5 separate regions of the Homo sapiens genome follow, and all the other regions are linked to region 5. Evidence: promoter capture Hi-C in 16 types of primary human blood cells and fetal thymus (Javierre and others, 2016). All regions are on one chromosome and are shown on one strand. The core of a region is centred on a gene start or on the middle of the fragment in contact, and the rest is flanking DNA. Distances in the headings are between cores, read along the strand shown.

The links. Contacts are between HindIII fragments. The CHiCAGO score rates a contact against its expected background, and 5 or more counts as called.
Region 1: a contact is called between a fragment that was not itself captured here and the fragment with the promoter of SLC5A11 in region 5, in 1 of 17 cell types (endothelial precursors). The highest score is 6.8, in endothelial precursors.
Region 2: a contact is called between a fragment that was not itself captured here and the fragment with the promoter of SLC5A11 in region 5, in 1 of 17 cell types (endothelial precursors). The highest score is 5.0, in endothelial precursors.
Region 3: a fragment that was not itself captured here is called in contact with the fragment with the promoter of SLC5A11 in region 5 in 1 of 17 cell types (endothelial precursors); the score reaches 5.0 in endothelial precursors.
Region 4: a contact is called between a fragment that was not itself captured here and the fragment with the promoter of SLC5A11 in region 5, in 1 of 17 cell types (endothelial precursors). The highest score is 5.6, in endothelial precursors.

The regions. Positions count from the first base shown.
Region 1 is chr16:24,578,080-24,582,397 of GRCh38, reverse strand. No RefSeq gene overlaps it. Among named protein-coding and RNA genes, the nearest start is that of RBBP6, 41 kb to the right of the region's middle. The HindIII fragment of the contact is 420 bases long and covers 2,114-2,533 here.
Region 2 is chr16:25,107,652-25,111,784 of GRCh38, reverse strand. It overlaps LCMT1-AS1 (LCMT1 antisense RNA 1), which reads left to right and starts at 230. Exons shown (of 3, transcript NR_120306.1): 1 at 230-389. LCMT1 (leucine carboxyl methyltransferase 1) reads right to left here and starts at 43. Exons shown (of 11, transcript NM_016309.3): 1 at 1-43. RefSeq lists enhancers at 1-315, 93-620. The HindIII fragment of the contact is 896 bases long and covers 2,116-3,011 here.
Region 3 is chr16:24,560,204-24,564,211 of GRCh38, reverse strand. It overlaps RBBP6 (RB binding protein 6, ubiquitin ligase), which reads right to left. Exons shown (of 18, transcript NM_006910.5): 9 at 2,497-2,600; 10 at 2,051-2,388; 11 at 917-1,013; 12 at 711-789; 13 at 548-602. Among named protein-coding and RNA genes, the nearest start is that of RBBP6, 23 kb to the right of the region's middle. The HindIII fragment of the contact is 2,806 bases long and covers 375-3,180 here.
Region 4 is chr16:24,542,956-24,547,194 of GRCh38, reverse strand. RBBP6 (RB binding protein 6, ubiquitin ligase) reads right to left here. Exons shown (of 18, transcript NM_006910.5): 2 at 933-1,032. Among named protein-coding and RNA genes, the nearest start is that of RBBP6, 5.5 kb to the right of the region's middle. The HindIII fragment of the contact is 646 bases long and covers 2,269-2,914 here.
Region 5 is chr16:24,844,386-24,848,559 of GRCh38, reverse strand. SLC5A11 (solute carrier family 5 member 11) reads right to left here and starts at 2,597. Exons shown (of 17, transcript NM_001352248.3): 1 at 2,548-2,597; 2 at 2,122-2,328. The HindIII fragment of the contact is 4,984 bases long and covers 1,991-4,174 here.

The sequences.
Region 1 (4,318 bases), core at 1,074-3,573, 270 kb after region 5:
AAAGTGCTGGGATTATAGGCATGAGCCACTGGGCCTGGCCCCAATTTTTATTAGATAGGTAGAAAGAAGGTTCTGGAGGGGAATATCCCAAGAAAAAGGGTAAAACTGATGAACACTTATTTGAATATCCTGGGAGGAGGTTTGTTTCCAGTGAGCCATAGAAAATCAAACTTTTGAAACGGGAGTTGATATTAATTCCAGGAAAAACAACATTTTACATGAAAGCAATCCTACTATACCAAGTGACTCAATGTGGAACTGTTTATATAGATATATAATAATGTATACCACCATTTTTATTTAATCCAAATGGTAAAACTTTTATTGAGAGGGTGGGAGAGGGTAGAGGTGTATGTGTGTGGGTGTTGCTAAAGTCAATTGTGGCTCATACTTGAGACTGAAAAATCAAGTAATAGGAGGAGTGTGTTATTTACATATAACATTCTTCTTTTCTTTTTTAAAGAAAGAACTAGCAGAGTTGAAATGGCCTGTAAAGAATTAGTCAGCATATAATTAATTAGAGTAGGAGAATGAAGTTTTTGTTGTAAGTCTTTTTTTTTTTTTTTTTTTTTGAGATGGAGTTTCGCTCTTGTTGCTCAGGCTGGAGTGCAATGGTGTGATCTTGGCTCACTGCAACCTCCGCCTCCCGGGTTCAAGTGATTCTCCTGCCTCAGCCTCCTGAGTAGCTGGGATTACAGGCGTGCACCACCATGCTCGGCTAATTTTTTGTATTTTTAGTAGAGACGGGGTTTCACCATGGCCAGGCTGGTCTTGAACTTCTGACCTCAGATGATCTGCCCACCGCGACTTCCAGAGTGCTGGGATTACAGGCGTGAGCCATCACACCCGGCCTGTTGTAAGTCCTGAAGAACTTTATGACTTTTTAAACAATGTACAACTTTGTGAGAAAAATTAAATTCTTAAAGCCTGCAAAATTGAGAATGTATTATGATCTGGGCAAATTTAATGAAAATGCTAACTACCACAGACATATCCTGGTAGAAAAGTCAATATCGGTGGGGGGAGGGGGAAGATGGAGAATCACACTGGTTTTGGACTTAAAGGTAACTCTAAATGCCTGAAGGCACCAGAATTTTGTTTTGTTGGCATTTCTGTTTTATTGTTAGTGGCTTTTTTTTTTTTTTTGACAGGGTCGCACTATGTCACCCAAGCTGGAGTGCAGTGGCTCACCGCAATCTCCAGCTCCGGGGTTGGAGTGATTCTCAGCCTCCCTAGTAGCTGAGATTACAGGTGTGCACCACCATGCCCATCTAATTTTTTTTTTTTTTTTTTTTTTGTATTTTTAGTAGAGATGGGGTTTCACCATGTTGGCCAGGCTCGTCTTGAACTCCTGGCCTCAAGTGATCCACCCGCCTCAGCCTCTCAAAGTGCTAGGATTACAGGCATGAGCCACCGCACCCGGCTGCTAGTGGCATTTAAAATTTTCAGATGTTTATTTGTGTAATAATTGAGATTGTAATTTTAAAAAATTGCAGAGGGGGAAACAGTTGCTAGTTTAAAGAACAAGCAGCTTCTTCTGCCCTCTAATGGCATAATTCATCCTTGGTTCAGAAAAATAATGGCTAATTTCAGTTTCAGAGATGAAGAAACTATGAAGTAGAACAGAAAAGAAGGGACGATGGTGTGCACAGGAAGATGAGAGGATGTGATGTGTTCTCAGAAAATAGGCAGAAATGTCACAAAATGTATAAAGATTGAGACTGTACCATAATGAGAAGCTCTGAAGAGAAAAATCAGCACAAGAGACATCAGAAAATTAAAAAGGAGCAAATCAGGATAAACCAGATCTCATATAACCATTATCAAAAATATCGGGGAAGCTCCTGGGCTTCCAGTTGACTGGCCAGTTGAAATAATAAACTCTTAACCTATCAAAAAATGGTCATCCTAGAAGATGGGAAGAATATAATCCAGGAATGTAATATGATAGGTCAAAACACACAATTATCAACATTTTATTTTGGTACCAAAATTTATACAAAAGAATATTTTAAATCCTAAATATATAAAATTTTGGATAAACAATATTTAGTCTAGAATTTTAAGATGTGATTTTTTTTTCTCCAAGTGGTTAACCAGTTCACTCAAAGCTTATTGAAAAACCTATCCTTTTTCACATTTACTTATGCTCAAACTGTTGTGTATTATATTTGGGCCAATTTATGGTGTTGTATTCAATTCCACTGACTTGTCTGCCTCTTCTGGCACCAGTGCCATAATGTTTTGAAAATTGCATATTTTCCCCCTTCAGCCCCCATAATAGCCAGGGGAATGAGGGCTGCGTGATCCGGCCTCCTTCCTGGCAACAAGACCAGCTATAACAAATCTGTCTCTGGACAGAATCTTCTTCCATCCCCGTCAACATGGTAGCCTACGCTTCAGGTTTCCTTTGTGCAATTTTCATCATATTCAAAGTGACTTCAAAGGAAATTAACTTCATTTGCTCCATGGCCCATCCCTGTTTCTTCAGATGATGGTGTGTTCCTAATACCCAAGATCTTCTATTCAAGCTTTCCAAGAGGCCATCTGCCTTCTCAAGGAGAGAACTGTCAGTTGTCTTTATTTCGCCTTCTCTCCATTAACAACAAAAAACTTTTAAGATGTGGTGCTATGGCAGAAATGCCATATTTTTAGCTATGTCTGCCCCTTCTGTCTTTTCCTGAGTTTCTAGCACTAATACAGTTTTCCCTGGCTTCATTTTTCATATTTGTGTTTATTGGTTTTAGTTTTTAGGATACAAAAAGAAATCAGTCTACCAGCTTTATATATCATTAAGCTAGGTAAAAACATATTTTAACAATTATCAAAATTTTGTTAATGGGCCAGGTGTGGTGGCTTATCCCTGTAACCCCAGCACTTTGGGAGGCCCAGGCAGGAGGATTTCTTGAGGCCAAGAGTTTGAGACCAGCCTGGGCAACACAGCAAGACCTATCTCTACAAAAAAAAAAAAAAATTATTTTTAATTAGCCAGGTGTGGTGGCACACACCTGTAGTTTCAGCTACTCATAAGGCTGAGGTGGGAAGATTGCTTGAGTCCAGGAGGTTGGGGAAGCAGTGAGCTATGATTGTGCCACTGCACTCCAGCCTGGGCAACAGAGAGAGAGAGAGACTCTGTTTCTAAACAAAAAAAAAAAACAACCCCCCCAACCCCGCCAAAAATTATTAAGGTTCCAGTTGTTTCTACCAAAGAAGATTTTAAATTCTAAATGTATGTCCATTCTCATATGAAAATCTTACCACAGAGACTTTAAAAATAGAAACCTAAATTGAAAACATTCACACTGGCCAAACCAACTTCATAGTAAATTACAAAAGAGCCACATTTCAAGCAAAGTGGAAAAGCAAGATTCACGCTGGTGTTGGCTTTAATATGAGATCACTGTTCACCCTTCATTAAATTTAATAAAAGGTAAAGTGCATAAAGGAATTAGCAATAGTTATTTTTAAAAAGTCCTTTTAACATGATCCTAAAAATAATCTCAAAGGCTTTTATCAAAGAGGAGCCTTGATAAGCTGTTTATACTTTAGATCCATACTGAAAGAATTTGCCTGAAGTCTTTGAATGTTCCTATTAATCCTATTTCTTTCAGATCCGTATGCTGAAGTTATTCACATACAGCAGCTTCATGGTACACTTTCTCCAGGATTTAAGTAGGTGACCTTAAGTCTATTCTTTCCTGACCATTCCAATTCTCAAAATTAAAAATGTTTGTGGAAAAATTTAATGTCAAAGGATGTGTTTATGACATAAAGAAAATGCAGGGTACACGCTCGCTCTCTATATTTTATATATACACGCATATACATACGTATATATATACATACTATATATAGGAGGCTTTTTTCTAGTTAAAAATAAGACAACTGCTGAAGCTAAAGTAAATGAGCAGTGGTATAAAAACTCTCAGAAAGGACATGTTTCAAATCAGAGGTTTTGTTCTATGTCTAGCTTTATACAGTAAGAACAGCATTCATTAAAGGCGCTGAAAGACAGGGAAAGTGGACAAGTACACGGAGACACTTGCGCAGACTGGGATGAATAAACTATTACGTTTATTAAGTAGCTTTTTGCTCCTCTGAAATCCTGGCTTAAATATTTTGGAGCAGGTTTCGCTCCCTTCATTTGCCATGCTGACACTAGCAAAGGAGTGATTTTTAAGCTCCTGATTTTAACACTCTGGAGTATTCTTGGCACACAGAAACACCTAGGTCCTTGAAGGATACTACTTTTCAAACCTGCAGTAGGCCAAAAATTAATCCCTCCCTTGAGAAACGGACATGTCACCGGTTGTCTGTG
Region 2 (4,133 bases), core at 1,314-3,813, 260 kb before region 5:
GAGGGTAGGGCCCTACCTGGCTCAGCTGGCGCGGCTCAGTGACGCCGCCCACGCCGGCTACCCCAGCAACCTCTCCGCTTATTGGCTCCTCTTCCGAGTCGCTCATTGAGCAATTCTCCTGCCCGCTCAGCCTACGAAGTTGCTCATTGGATAATTATTTTGGCACCGCCCACATAACCCGGAAATTTGACGATAGGAAAAAGAAACTAAACAGTAGGAGAGTATCGCAATCCTTTCTGGGAAGCGTAGTCTTAGGTGTCTGGAGAAGTCGCCCGGTTTCTGCTTGCTGGTCGCGAAATTTTATAGCTATAATTAACTCAGGGCGGAACAGCTAGCAGAATCCTCAGCGTTCGGGCAAAGGGCAGAGAATCCAGCCAGAAGCAACATGTGTAAGTTGTTACATTCAGTCCGGGCTCAGTGTCATTCAATTTTACAAAATTTTGTTGTGTGCTGACTCTGCCAGCGACTGTGCTGAGGGCTTTGCCCCCAAAATTGCCTTCGAAATGTAGTGAGGGGGGCGGGCGTAGTGGCTCACTCCTGTAATCCCACCACTGTGGGAAGCCGAGGCGGGCCGATCACCTGAGGTCAGGAGTTCGAGACCAGCCTGGCCAACATGGTGAAACACCGTTGTTACTAAAAGTACAAAAATTAGCCGGGCGTGGTGGCGGCCGCCTTAGTCCTGGCTACTCAGGAGGCTGAGGCAGGAGAATCGCTTGAACCCGGGAGGCGGAGGTTGCAGTAAGCCCATGTGGCGCCACTGCATTCCGTCCTGAGCGACAGAGCGAGACTCCGTCTCAAAAAAATAAATAAACAAATAAATAAAAGAAAGAAAGAAAAGAAATGTAGTGAGGGAAGTAGTGTGTGGAAAAGTAATACAATAGGAAGCCATGTAGCAGCGATCATAAATGAACTAGAGCTACCAGGTAGCAGCATCAATGGCTGAATCTCAGAAACACGATGTTCAGTGAAAGAAGGAAGTCTAACAACACTTTTGTAAAGTTCAAACCAAGTAAAACTAATGTTGTTTAGAGAAACGTACATATATGGTAAAATACTGTACAGAGAAGGCAAGACATGAGAAAAAAAAATAAAAAAGAATCAGGATATTGGTGATCTTTAGGGAGCCGGGAGGGTAGCACACAAGAGGGGGAGGGAGAGGCAGGGAAGGAGCACATAGACACATCCTCAGTTTCTCACGTGGGAGTGGGTTCACGTGTGTCTGTTTCATTATGAGGCATATTCAAGATGTTTTGGATTTATTTTGTACTAAATCTAGTACAAAATATATGTATAAATTCAAGATGTACTGGGGAAGTCGCCTGGTTTCTTGCTGGTGATGAAATTTTATAGCTATAATTAACTCAGGGCAGAACAACTAGCAGAATCCTCAGTGTTCGGGCGATTGGCAGAGAATCCAGCCAGAAGCAACCCTTGTAAGTTGTATATGTATAATAATGTTTAATATACATTATAAATTAAAAATGTCTTTGTATATTCCATTTTGTTATCTGTCAGTTGTTGGAAGCAGGAAACAGATATACTTTAAGAACTTTGAATTGCACTCATTTTTTTAAAAAGAAAATCAACAACAGAAACCCAGAATACACACCTTGGAGTGAGGTCAAATATCAAATGCTAGCTCAGTATTCTAATGGAGGCACAAGATCTCATTGATAGCCACAGTAGAAATGACAAGAGGGGAATGACTAAGGGTGGAGAGCTTTGCCAGGGGGAATGCTGATGGGATGAAATACACCATTTTCTTGGAGTGGTCCTTTGCCAAAAGGGTAATACAAACTATTGCACAAGCATCATCTCCCAGCTTAGCAGTGTCCACATTCCACGGGTGTTAGTGGATAGTAAGTGTTAACAGCAAGTACTATACGGTGTTAATCCCACAGGTCTGGACAGTGAGACTGGGGGTGACTGGAAGAAGGCGGAGGCAGATGGGTTTATACACTTTTGTTGTTGGATGAGCCTTTGATTCAAAATAGCTGGTGATTCAGAGGAATTTGGCCATCTTCCAGCTGACCTCCAGGGCCAGCTCATTCCATGTAAGTTCCTGGTTGAGGATCTGAAAGTTTATGACAGCGTGGAGTCTGGAGATTGCAAGCTTAGCCATCTCAGGCTAAATGATACCTTAATGCAAGAGACAATGCTGGGGTAGTCTTTGAGCCATATCCCAGCCAGAGAAAGTTCACTGCCAACTAGACTGCATCTTTTGACAAAGTCAGGAGAAGAGTTGTGGAAGTGTAAAAGCTCTTGGACATTAATATTGTGGGCCAAAAGTTAGGCATTCACCATGGAATCTCTCCCCAAAAGGCTACAATGGACAATTGTTGCTTTGGCTCTCCAGTATCTCTTTCTTCTATAAAAAATAGCTAGAGTGGGCTGGGCGCGGTGGCTCACACCTGTAATCCCAGCACTTTGGGAGTCCGAGGTGGGTGGATCACCTGAGGTCAAGAGTTTGAGATCAGCCTGGCCAACATGGTGAAACCTCGTCTCTACTAAAAATACAAAAATTAGCCAGGCATGGTGGCAGGCGCCTATAATCTCAGCTACTAGGGAGGTTGAGGCAGGAGAATCACTTGAACCCGGGAGGTGGAGGTTGCAGTGAGCTGAGATCGTGCCATTGAACTCCAGCTTAGGGGACAAGAGCAAAACTCCGTCTCAAAAAACAAACAAAAAGCTGGCATGGTGGCTCATGCCTGTAATCCCAGTACTTTGGGAGGCCGGGGCAAGTGGATCACCTGAGGTCAGAAGTTCGAGACCAGCCTGACCAACATGGTGAAACCCCATCTCTACTAAAAATAAAAATTAGCCAGGCATGATGGCGCATGCCTGTAATCCCAGCTACTCCGGAGGCTGAGGCAGGAGAATTGCCTGAACCCTGAAGGCAGGGGTTGTGGTGAGCCGAGATTGCGCTATTGTACTCCAGCCTGGGCAACAAGAGCGAAACTGTCTCCAAAAAAAAAAAAAAAAAGCTACAGCTTCTTATGGAAAACTAAGCTTCTCTCCTGGCCAGGCGTGGTGGCTCACACCTGTAATCCCAGTCACCGAGGCGGGATTTGGGAGGCCGAGGCGGGTGGATCATGAGGTCAGGAGTTCAAGACCAGCCTGGCCAACATGGTGAAACTCCATCTCTACTAAAAACACAAAAAATGGCTGGGCATGGTGGTGCGCGCCTGTAGTCCCAGCTACTCAGGAGGCTGAGGCAGAAGAATCGCTTAAACCCAGGAGGCAGAGGTTGCAGTGAGCCGAGATCGTGCCACTGCACTCCAACCTAGGCAACAAGAGCGAAAGTCTGTCTCGAAAAAAAGAAAAAGAAAAAGAAAAAAAAGCAAGGCTCCTTGCCTGACTCTAGGGGTGGAAACTTGCCAAGGTCTGGCCAATTGGCACCCAAAATCACCTTGTCATGCTTCAGAGGGTGGTGGGGATTGGGGGAAGGGCTAACCAGGTTGTTCCAATCAGAATGAATCCCAGGAGTTGAATGGAAGTTGCTCAGTTTATTAGCAGAGCTCTCTTTTTTGCCACACTTGAACTTGGTAGGTGCCATCAGGTGTGGCCTGTGTGTCCGCCACGTGGTCTCTGAGGCTCCCACCTGGGGGCAGCAGCAACACAACATCCTAACCAGTGGGTGCTTGAGTTCTACTCACTGATGTTCAGATTAGAACTCTTTGGTCACTGCGTCTAGCCTTGTGACCATCACTAGCTGCTTGGGACAGCCATAGAGACACTGTTAGGAAAGTGTGCCCCCAGCACAGTCATGGGAACAATCCTTTATGTTGTTTGTGGCAAGGAAGGAGACCATCACCCATCACCCCAGGAAGATTTAGGAATGGCTCCCTGCCTGTGTCCTAACAGTAATTGTTCTAGCAAGGGTAGTGATGTTTCCTGTGGCACTGTTGCGCTGCTGCTGCTCTCTGTTCTTCTGACCCCTAAGAAATGCACATCCCTGGCAGTCAGTGGCCTAGTCACTGATGATGAAAAAAATAAAATGGACAGGGAATGGCATTTGTTGTTCAACTTCTCTCTCGATGGAAAACCCCAAACTGACAACCCTGGGCTTTGCTTCGCAGTGTTGCTTGCATATTTGGTCAAGGGGTTCAATGGCCCCAGCTGGACCCTAAACA
Region 3 (4,008 bases), core at 528-3,027, 280 kb after region 5:
ACATTAAGTAAGTCTGCTGATTTTTAATGCCATAAAATATCCCACAGAGAAAATCAAAGTTCTTTGTATTTTAGGGTGGCAAGAACAACTCGATTTCAGACAAAAAATTTTTGTTTGGTAGACGTTAATCTTATTATGTATTTATGTACTCAAATCAAACTTTGATCATCCAAATTAAGGGTAGAAAAAGTTAAACCTACTAGGAAAATAACTGCCACCATATTTAAAATAACTTTTCAAGTAATTCTTATCTATTCATTAAACTGAAGTCCTGTCAAGATCCCCATTTGTTGGATATGAAAGTAGAAAAAAACTTTTAAAATTTTGTATTTTAGAAAAGATTTGCTCATTTAAAAAAAACCCTCATATAAGCTTGAATTTTGACATTTTACATAAAAAATGTTAATCTGGCACATGAAAGTTTACAATAAAGAGCAGCGACCCGCTGCCTAGTTTGGACCTTCCATTATCTAGTTTGCCTAGTTTGGACCTTCCATTATCTAGTTTGCAGGCAATCATCTGAAGATTATTGTAAACATCTACTCACTGTTCCCAGCCTGGTCGACCACCACCTGGACGAGCAGTATTTATTCTTACTGGACCTAGAAACAAAAAATAAAAGCAGTAGGTAAATACAAAATTGCACATTAAATCAAGCTAAAATTATTTTTTAAAGGGAAAAAGGTCTAAACCAAAGTGATCTTACTCACCAGTTGTGGGGATCAACTGTCCATGCAATAATGACTGTCCAAGCAAAGATGGGGTTCCAAGAACAGGCACCTGGTAACCCTTTAGAAACAACCACAAATAAACAGAAATAGTTAAAAAAAAAAAAAAAAAAGAGGTAAGAACAAAGCCAGAAAAACAAAACCCTGCTGTAAAAAAAATCCCAAATTAAAGCACCAGTAAAATTTACCTTCTCTTCCATAAGAGCGGTAATTGCAATTGAGGAGGTTCCCTTTGAGTGCTCTGATGCAAGAGCTGCAGCTGGCAATATTTTATTATCAGAATCCCTTTAAAAAACATAAATTATAATACATTAAAAATTATCAGAAATGGACAATTAAGAGTAAAAAAGTTTGCTGCTGTTTACCCATCACCTGCAGTTAAGATGAGTTAAGTCAAAGATGATGAATACTTCTGAGGAAAGTGAGAGAAGGCTGAAACTTTGAAGAGTTCTCTATATGTAGTAAGTGGAAAAGTAAAATGAAGGACCTCCTTAAGAAGATACTACAGTTATGACAGAAATCAGTTGCAAGAATAGTAAAACTTAAAATCAAAGTCTGGCCTATGAAGACAAAAATCCCCCTAGGATTAAGAGTTAAGTTTTAGCTCTAGTTCTACCACTAAACTGAAAGGATAATCTTGGGTCAGCCATAGAACTCTCTGGGCCTATTTCCACTATCAACCAAATAAATTCCACCAGATCAGTGGAATTTCTTAAATGTAAATGTAAAGGTCTCATCCTAAAGATTTTGCTTCAGTGTGTCTGAAATGGGCCTCTTACACCTTTTTTTTTTTTTTTTAAAGAATTTATGAGACATTAAACTACATGGACAAAAGTCTCATTTCTGAAGTGGTAGGCTGTGAGTTTTCACTATTCTCCTACATAATAATTATGCTCCAAAACAATCACTATTCCTGACTTCTCTACTTACCTGTGTTTTTACCCCCTCTTCTCTACCTATCTAAACTGTTCTTAGTTCTACTCAAAACTACTCCTATCCAAAACTATCATTATGATCACAAGTGAATTCTCCCACCTCTGTTAAGTTCAGAGCTGTTATGGTATATGGAACATTCAACGTTTAATAGGGGCTGGTTGGCAACCTGTGTAGTATTTGACCTCAGGATGCTTAATCCTCATTTGCCAAATCAATCACGTTTGTTTTCCTCTTCCCCCAATAAGACTAAGTCACTTCTTACAAGTCATCCCACATTACTGAGCACAGTGGTCCACTAAGAAAGCTGTTAAAAGTGATAACCAACAACAAAACACTACATCATTGACCTCATTTGGTTTCTAACAGTGAAAAACACACAGGCTTACCGAAAAGGTCCATCTGATTTTTCTGAATGAACTGATATGGATACTGTTGCAGTTATATCAGGTACAGGAGCTGGAGCAGAAGACGGATTTCCAGACACAGGAGGGGCCAAGGAAGACTGATTAGAAGTTAATGAAGATATAGACGGAGCTGGGTGAGTTGATGAAGATGTCACTGGAATCATAAGAGGATCTTGTTGTCTTGATATCGGAGATCTCATCAGAGGTTGTAGGTTCCTCTGAATCAGTGGTCTCGGAGGTGGTATTGGGGGTGGTGGAGGAGGTAACTGTTTTCGTAGTCTTTTTGTATAGCCAGTTTCATTTTTGAAGTTATTTACAGCCTACAGATACCAAGCATAATAATGCAGAAAAATGTTATGCAGTATTCACTGAAGTACAGTTAAATCAGTTAAAAAGAATTTTTTCATAAAATGGATACAGACAGTTACCTGTCGTAAAAATTTATTGGCAATTAAAGCATCAGGAGAAACATCATTTTGATGACACGTCGGACATGTGTGCTCATCTGATTCCAGGAGTGCTGTTCTTATACCTATGTATAAGATTTCAAATATTAATAAAAGCATAGTAGGAACTCAAAGTGTTTACGAAATGAATTAAAAGGATGGTCCACATTTGTTCAGTTACATTACTGTTTTCCAAGCATGTCGTGCTAATCATTTCTTAGATTAAGAAACTTAAGTAAAATCTCTCATCTTACAGTACTCCTCTGCTCTTTTCTATATGACCTATGCTACGCTAAAAAGAAGTCACAGCTGGGTGTGCTGGCATGTGCCTGTAATCCCCACTCCTGGGGAGGCTGGGACAGGAGAATCACTTGAGCCTAGAAGTTCAAGGCTAGCCTGGGGCAAAATAGCAAGGATCCCCCACCCCATCTTTTTTTTTTTTTAAACAAATGTCTGAATTGAGAGCAAAAGCACTCTTTCTCAAAGACTATTCTTTGTTTAGCTAGTAACTGGAATATTGTAGAAAACAAAAGAGAAATATAAGATAGTCTAGAAAGACAAAAATTTTACATGGCTAACTTGGGGTTTTTATTCAGGCAAGGAAATGAGAGACCTACAGCACAGTACGTGGGAGCAACACTAAATTACAGATACGAAGATTAAGCTTCAATGTAGTAAAACTCCAGTAATACCAAGTGGTATGTTAAATCTAAGATATAATCTGAAACAAGTCTTTAGCAACCTCTTCTTGACCTTGGTCTTCACTGAAGAGGTCAAAAAATAAAGATTTACAGGTATCCAAAGGGGATGGGTTCCAGAACCCTCTGAAGATAACGTCTGTAGATGCTCAAGTCACTCAACTGCCCCAAAGGCATAGTATTTGCATATAATACTATGTACATCCTCCAGTATACTTTAAATAATCTCTAGATTGCTTGTAATACCTGCTGCAATATAAATGCTATGTAAATAGTTGTTATACTCTTATTTTAAAATCTGTATTAGTCTTTACTATTATTTTTTACTGTTTTCTTGCCCCCAAATATTTATGATCTGTGGTTTTGAATCTGCAGATGCAGAACCATGTGTATGAGGACTGTATATTTCAAAACTACCTTTAAAAATGAAAAAGGCCAGAGCAGGCTTGAGCAAATTTTCAGGTAACACTGATTTCTTCTGTGTAAGAAGGCACAAACTTAGGATAAGTGGCAGGAAACAACTAAGTGCTAATATAAGTGATTTAAAAAGTCACAACTGCATGGTAAATGCTGGGTAATAAATATGTCTACAGATGTCGGGCGCGGTGGCTCACGCCTGTAATCCCAGCACTTGGGGAGGCCGAGGTGGGCGGATCACGAGGTCAGGAGATCGAGACCATCCTGGCTAACACAGTGAAACCCCGTCTCTACTAAAAATACAAAACATTAGCCGGGTGTGGTGGCGGGCACCTGCAGTCCCAGCTACTTGGGAGGCTGAGGCAGAATTGTGTGAAGC
Region 4 (4,239 bases), core at 1,342-3,841, 300 kb after region 5:
AATTTCAAGAACACTTTCCATTCCCTAGCACTGGCAAATTCTAGAATTTTTCATTGACTCAAAATAATTTGTTCCAATTTCAAACAATACTACCTAATTCTAAGTGAAAATCACTACTCTTTAAATAACCTATGTTGCTGCCCTTTTCACATATTATAGTTCTGCTATCACTACTGAAATTGCAAGAAAGCAGAGAAAGTTAAGGATATAAGGTTTTAATCCTGCCCCAGGTTAGTGAATACCAGCTCCGGACTAGTTGTGAGACTGCTCTCTTCCTACTCCAATAATGTGCATTTAGCATGTGCCAGACACTATTTAATTCTTACAACCCTCTAGAGTTAAGTACTCACGTCCCTATTTTATTTTTGAGGAATCTGAGGCACAGAGACTTACCCAAGGTCCAAAGTCACACAACTGGTATGAAGCAGTAAATGGAGTCAAATCTAAGCCTGATTTCAGTGCCCATGATTATAAATCCTATATACTTTATGCCTCTCAGCCAAAGCCCCTTATTGATAAAGAGTAAATGTTAGCATTACTGAATACTCTTGATGCTGTCAAAATATTTAGGACCGATGTCTACAACACCAAATTTTTGTAGTGAAGAAAACTGAAGGAACCCCCACAAAAAAAAGTAGTCAAAGAAAGGCACAGAAATAATGTGAATATCACTTTCTTGTATCTGTAAATACTGGCCATATGGAGAAAAATTTTTCCTAATAATGGCCCTCTCACAACAGGCTAAGTCAATTTAACTGGGGGAGGAAATCAAAAACAAACGAACAAAGAAACCTACTATCCTCACAGTCTTGAGAAGATGTATTCATTAAGGTTAAAGTAATGAGTTCAGTTCTAAAATACAGTTTTTTCTCACAAAATTAAAAAAACTAAAAAAAGTCTATTTTGAGAAATACATGAGATTTGATACTTACATAACATATGTCTTGCTTGTAGATTTAACACCTCCAATAGGAATTCTTCTAACAATTACAGAAGAATTCTTAGGAATCAGAGCATTATCATCAGTATATTCTGTAAATAAAAAGACAGAATTGAATTTCCATTTGGGGATTTGAGTGCGTAACCAAGAATTAGAAAACTTCAAATATAAATTTCATGGGAAATGACTTTAAATATAATAACTACAAGTTCCTTGCAACTAGATTACTGATATTGTCAGAACAAACATCCAAAGCCCTAAGAGGGCTTCTTTTCAAAGGACAACCAATATCATCAGCAGGTTCTTGGCTCTAGCACTTCTACTTTTGTGGAACTCCAAATCTCAGTAACACCGTCATTCTTTAGTTTAGTCTGAAATGCTGAACATGTGAATGGTGAAAAAGCCGTTATTCGGAATGAAGATATTCTGTCTCTCCTAGTCCCTAAACGTTAGTTGAGTATTACAATCCCTGCATTCACAGAAATTATTACTGAGGAAGATAGACTAAAAATTAAATTATGACGTTATGAATAAAGAGAAAATGGTTTTCTAATAAGGAATGAATAGTGGAATACAACTTCAGATAGAATGTTGATTCCAAGAAAGCCCCTTGGAGGAACTTCTACTGGATACTTAAAGACTGAGAACCCAGCCAGATACAGGAAAAAAACTGGTTGAGGACTATTTCAGGCAAAGGATAAAAAAAGCATGTAGAAAAATGATACGAAACGGCTTGAAGAGCCTAAGAAAATAAAAGAAAAGAATGACAGAAAGGTATAGACCATACACTGATTTATATTTTGTTTTGAAGTGCAACAGGAAGACACTGAAGGATTTTAAGCAAAGTGATTATTTGCTTTTTGTTAAAGAAAAAAAGACTACTGGCCAGGCGCGGTGGTTCACGCCTGTAATACCAGCATTTTGGGAGGCTGAGGGGGGCGGATCACGAGGTCAGGAGATTAAGACCATCCTGGCTAACACGGTGAAACCCCATCTCTACTAAAAATACAAAAAAATTAGGAAGGTTTGGTGGTGGGCGCCTGTAGTCCCAGCTACTCAGGAGGCTGAGGCAGGAGAATGGCATGAACCTGGGAGGCTGCAGTGAGCCGAGATCGCGCCACTGCACTCCAGCCTGGTGACAGAGCAAGACTCTGTCTCAAAAAAAGACTACTGTGGCACCAATGTGGAGCACAAACTGTAGGAGAACAAGAGTAGAAACCAGGGGACTAATAACCAGGCTGCTAAAAAATCCAGGTAGAGATAATGACGACCTGTGTTATGATGTGAGAAATAAAGACAGAATGTTTGCAGGTAGGATTGACAAAGCTTGCTGATGGACCGAATATGGGGGAGATGAAGGAAATGAAGAAGAAAGAGGAATCAGGCCAGAGGAATCCCTGGGTTCCTGGCTTCAGTCATCGGATAAACAGTGATGTCACCTTCTGGGAAAACCAAGAGGGAGAAGAATGGATCCTATTTTTACACTCCTTGGGCTATTTGCAATACTTGTATAAGAATGAAATTAAGAAAATGGACCTTAACTATGGTAAAAAGATTTGCTACAGAAAGAATCTGTAAAATTACCAAAAAGAAAAATTACCTAGAGATGCAAAAATGTATCCATCTCCTTTAATCACACAACCAGGCCTTTTTATTGTCATTAAGTTTACTTGCTTCACTTAAAGTTACTCTGCACAAAGTGACTATCTCTGTTCTTCCGATTATTACGCTTACCACATATGTAGGCATATTCGGCTTTTAATGTATATTAATTATTTTTAGTCATAATGCTAATAGTATTGTTAGAAATGAAATTGTTCAGGCAAGGGTTATTTTCTATATACTTCAAGTAGAAGGCACTATCTCACAGGCATTCAATTAGAGGTAGGCAATTTCCTAGATTTAGGCATGCCAATGTAGGACTATAATCTTTATCTTGGACAGTTCATGATAGCCCCAAATTCCGAGGAAGCTTTGAGTCAGAAAAACTGAGAGCATGGGGTGACTAGATTTTTTTAAAAGTTAATTCTAGAAATAAAACTTTGTGTCAAACACCTGACAGGAAGTTTCTGAATATGTAACAACTCAATGCACTCACAAGAGCTTTCCAAGACAGCTTATTAATTTGATTAGCACCGTACTGTGTCAAACTAAAAGGTGCCTCAATGCCCTTCAAAACAGATGTTCTAACTGACTTTTTAAATACCTGAATTACAATGATTTCTTACCCCTCAAAGTATCTTTCTAGGGGTAATAAAGACACTTTGGGGGTATTTCATTTAAAATACCTCCTTAACAAGTAGTCTGTTGGCTTCAAAAGACCCTTTCTGCTTGCCAGTTTTTTTGACCCCAGACATGAAAGGCATGGATGAAATGAAAAACAGAATGAATCCGAGAAATGGAGAGTAAGAAAGGTGACAAGGGTCATTTATAAACACTTCATATTCAGCTTCCAAACCTCTCACACTTTAATTTCAGAACGAAGGATGTTTTGTTTTTTAGGGGTCGGTGTGCAGAAAAGTTTCTCATATATAACAAAGATTACTTGATATTCATTTTGAAATACAGTCTAGAAACAAGCAGGATTCTTGTCTAAAATCCATGGAATTCTGACCCAAGCGTTTCAGTCTTATCAAGATTTAAGGGTCCTATGCCAGGCACAGTGGCTCAAGCCTATAATCCCAGCACTTTGGGATGGCCTTGGGAGGCCAAGGCAGGAGAACACTTGGGCTCAGGAGACCAGCCTGGGCAACATGGCAAAATCCCCATCTCTACCAAAATAAAATAAAAAAAAATTACAATAAATTAGCCAGGCATGGTGGTGTGTGGCTGTAGTCCAGCTACTTGGGAGGCTGAGGTGGGAGGATCACCTGGGCCTGGTAGGTTGAAGCTGCAATGAGCCAAAATTGTGCCATTATACTCTAGCCTGTGAGGATGTGTCTCCAAAAAAAAAAAAAAAAAAGATTTAAGGGACCTAAACATGCACATAATTCCAAAACTGTAAGGAAATGTTTTACAGAAACATGGTAGATTAGGGATTTTAAAATTATAAGAATGAAATTAAGAAACTGGACCTTAACTGTGATAAAAAGATTACCATAGTTTTCTTTAGTAAATATGTTGAATATCGGTGCTAAAACCAAATGGCATTCTACTCAACTGCCTTGTGACATTGGATACTATTTCCCATAAAACTAGTTAAGTAGCTACCATCAATATCTCTTTCTCTCTTAATTTGAGGACTGCATAAAATACACATTTTCTCCCTCAAAGCTCCCTTTTCTTAACAAACCGAACAT
Region 5 (4,174 bases), core at 1,348-3,847:
CAGCTCCTGCAGCCTCAACCCCATGGGCTCAAATGATCCCTGCACAGTGCTGGGATTACAGGTGTGAGCCACCATGCCTGGCCTCCAGCTAACTTCTTATTTTGTAATTTTTTTGTAGAGACGGGGTCTTGCTATGTTGCCCAGACGGGTCTCAAACTCCAGGCCTCAAGCAATCCTCCCAACTTGGCCTCCCAAAGCACTGAGGTTGCAGGCATGAGCCACCTCACCCAGCCTTGCTTCCTTTTAATCCGCCCCTCACACGGAAGCCAGAGAAATCTTTAAGTATGAGTCAGATCAGATCATTTTCCTGCTCAAAACATCTCCATGCTGCTGGGGTGCTTTGTTGTGCTTCCAACCCCACCACATACTAGCATTCATTTTATTCCTGGAACACGATTTCTGGCCTCAGGGTCTTTGCCATTCTGTTCCCTCTGCCTGGGATGCTCTTCCCTGCACTCTTTGCTGGACAAGCTCCTACTCATCCTTTAGATGTCAGCCTGCTGTATATCCCCAAAGGAGCCCCCTCTTGGCCTCAATATAAATTGGGTCCCCAAGCTTTTTGCTTTCATGGCAAACACAACTTCTCATCACAGTCTAATCAAGTGTAACACTTGATGTGTGTGATTACCCCTTGTCTGCACTGCACAGCAAGCCCCATAAAGAAAGGTCCATGTCTCTGTCACTCTCATTGTGTCCCCAAAACAGGCATGCAATAAATGTTGGTACAACAAATAAATGTGGGATTTTTAGAGCCTTTGCTATAGATCCTTTGCACGCTGTGACCGCCCAAAAAAGGGACAGCATTTTTCCAAGTCCTATCTGCAGGATGCCCAATGGGCTAGGACACTTCTGTCAACTATTGCCCAGAATAATTCAGCAGAACACCATTTGAAAACCACTGATTGGTAGGGTGCAGTGGCTCATGCCTGTAATCCCAGCACTTTGCAAGGCTGAGGCGGGAGAATCGCTTGAGTTCAGGAGATTGAGACCAGCCAAGGCAACACAGGGAGACCCCATTTGTACAAAAAATAAAAATAAAAAAGTTAGCAGGGCATGCTGGTGAGCTATGATAGTACTACATTTCAGCCTGGGCAACACAGAGAGACCCTGTGAAAGAAAAGACAGAAAAGAAACGAGAGAGAGAGAGAACAGAAAACACACACAGAGAGAGAGAGGAGGCAAAGAAGGAAAGAAGGAAGGAGAAAGGGAAAGAAAGGAAGAAATAAATAATAAAAGAGAGAGAAGAAAGAAAGAAAGAAAGAAAAAAGGGAAAAGAAAGAGAAACAGAGAGGTGGGAGGGAGGGAAGGAAGGAAAGAAGGAAGGAGAAAGAAAGGGAAAGAAAGGAATAAGGAAAGAAATAAAAGAAAGAAGGAAAGAAAGAAAGAACAAAGAAAAGAAAGGAAAAGAAAGAAAAAGAAAGAAAGAGAAAAAGAAAGAAAGGAAAGAAAAAGAAAATCACTGATATTGTGGCTGAGCTCATGGCCACAGGAATTGAGTCTTGGCTTGGCCACTCACTATCTGTATTACCTTGAGCAAGTTATTTAATGACCCTTAGACTCTGTCCATGAATTAGGGGGTGCTGTACCTACCTTACAGGGTTTCTGTGTCAGTTAGATGAGATCCAGGCGTAAAGTTCTCTGCACGTGTCTGACACGTACCAGTGAAGACTTGTATTTGCCTTGTAGTTAACAGCAGCTGCAGTTGTAGTAAATACATTCCTATAGCTTTTTAATGCTTATGTGGATACATTTACCTTCGTTATCTCTGGGTAACACACCTGTGGGGTGGGTCAGCCTGAGGTTCATATTCCCATTTGACAGATAAGGAACCTGAGACTCGGTGAGGCAAAATGTTTGGCTCAATGTCCCTGACCTTGGTTAAGTGGAAGAGCTGGGACCCACGTACGGTGCTGCTGGCTGCCGGCTGCTGGCTTCATACCACCATGCCCACCCCACAAACACACTCCATTGTCCTGGTGTATGACAAGCTTTCTCTGCAGAGAGGGCTGAGCTTCCCCTGCCCCACAGGTGACAGCTGGAGTCCTTCTGCCAGCACCTGTCCCCAGACCAACTTCCCAGTTTGGAGAGTGGCTACCTGTTTGGGGGCAGGGGGTGTCTTACCTTATTCCAGATGCAGGGCTCACCTGCCCTGGGGGCTGTCAGTGGCTTCTAAGGCACTAGGAGGTGGCGGTGGTTGTAAGGAGGGAGATACCCGGGATCCTCTCTCTTTGCAGCCAAGAGCTTCCGGAGACAGCAGTGACCCTTCCTCCTATATGCCCGCTGCTGAGAGAGCCTCCAAGCGGGTCAAACTCCAAACTCCAGCCTCAGCTGCAGCGGGGATTAAAGGAAGCGTGAATGATCTCCCCAGGGCAGAAGAGAGAACGGGGCCCAGCCCAGGACCCTTGAACTCTGAGCAGGTGGGGAAGGTGACATGTCCCACGCTCTGCCCACACCGTCCTCCACCAGGGTCCTCACCTGCGTGGGGACCCATGGCATGGAGGGGTTGGGGAGACGCTGGAGCCCAAGGCACCATCCTGCTTCACTCACCCAGTCTTCCACTGTCCCGCCTCCACGCTGGGGACAGGCAGGCTTGGGACGAGCTGGAGGAAGGGGAGGGGAGGAAAAATGCTGGCGGCGGATGGAGGGGACAGAGGCAAAGTGCCAGGAGGGACGTCCAGCCACAGCCCTCACCGCAGTGGCAGCAACAGGAACAGCAACCATTGCTTGTGCAACCCCTTTCCATATACTCTTCAGACAGAGGCATGGCAAAGAACAGGTGTCTGCCTGAAGTCGAGAGTTCGAGACCAGCCTGACCAACATGGAGAAACCCCATCTCTACTAAAAATACAAAGTTAGCCGGGTATGGTGGTGCATGCCTGTGGTCCCAGCTACTCGGGAGGCTGAGGCAGGAGAATCACTTGAATCCGGGAGGCGGAGGTTGTGGTGAGCCGAGATTACACCATTGCACTCCAGCCTGGGCAACAAGAGCGAAAATCAGTCTCAAAAAAAGAAGAAGAAGAAGAAGAAGAGGTGTCTGAGGCCCTGAAAAACCGTCAGGAGTGACCGAGCCATGGCCAGGCGCCCACATCGGGCCCAGGACATCAGCGGGGCATAGCGAAGATTTCTGCCAGATGCTCAAAGCATCCAAAACTTTATTTACTTTTTATTTCTGAGACAGGATCTCACTCTGTCACCCAGGCTGGAGTGCAGTGGTGGCATCACAGCTTGCTGCAGGCTCATCCTCCTGGGCTCAAGTGATCCTCCCACCACAGCCTCCCGAGTAGCTGGGACTACAGGCGTGCACCACCACACCCAGCTAATTTTTTCATTTTTTTGGTAGAGAGAGAATCTTGCTATGTTGCCCAGGCTGGTCTCCAACTCCTGGGTTTAAGTGATCCTCCCACCTTGGCCTCCCAAAGTGCTGGGATTACAGGGGTCAAACACTGTGCCAGGCCAAATACCAAAACATTTTAAAAATAGTTACTAGTATTTGCAAACCAAGAGGCTTGAAACATAATTCTAGAATACTCACTTTTCTAGAACAACCTGAAGATCTGGCCTCACCAGGCCCCCATGGCCACAGGACAGCTGCTGACTGGGGAGGAGTCGTGGCCTCCCCATCTCACTCCTTCACTGGGCCTGCCAGGCTCTGGGGGGCCCTCAGCTGAGGCCCCTGTCCTGGCACCGAGTAGCCAGAAATAATAGCAGTGATGAACACGTGCCAGGCTCTAAGGGCACAACATGCCTTTACTCACTTGGTCTTTCCAACAACCCTCGAAGTTAGGTCCTGTTATCTCTATCTTACTGACGAGGTAACAGAGGTAGAGGAGATGAGTCATCGGCCCAGGATCACCCGGGTTGTAAGTGACACAGCAAGATTTCAGCCCAGGCCACCTGGCTCTAGAGTCCTGCAGGAGCAGTGGAGGGTGGCTTGACTGGATAAAGGGTGGCCTGGGTGAGCAAACACTGGGTGACTGACCAACACCAGTATGAATGGGGCCTTTGGGGGAGGGACCTGCCCTGGGGGACAGATTTACAGAAGGAACAGCTGGGATTGGAGAAGAGGGACAGACAGAAGGCCATGAATCTGTGATCTGCAGCAGAGGCCACAGCACCAGGAAAGGCAGTGGGGTGCCACCGAGGGTGCACTGCTTCGCCAACCTGGGGTCCAGTC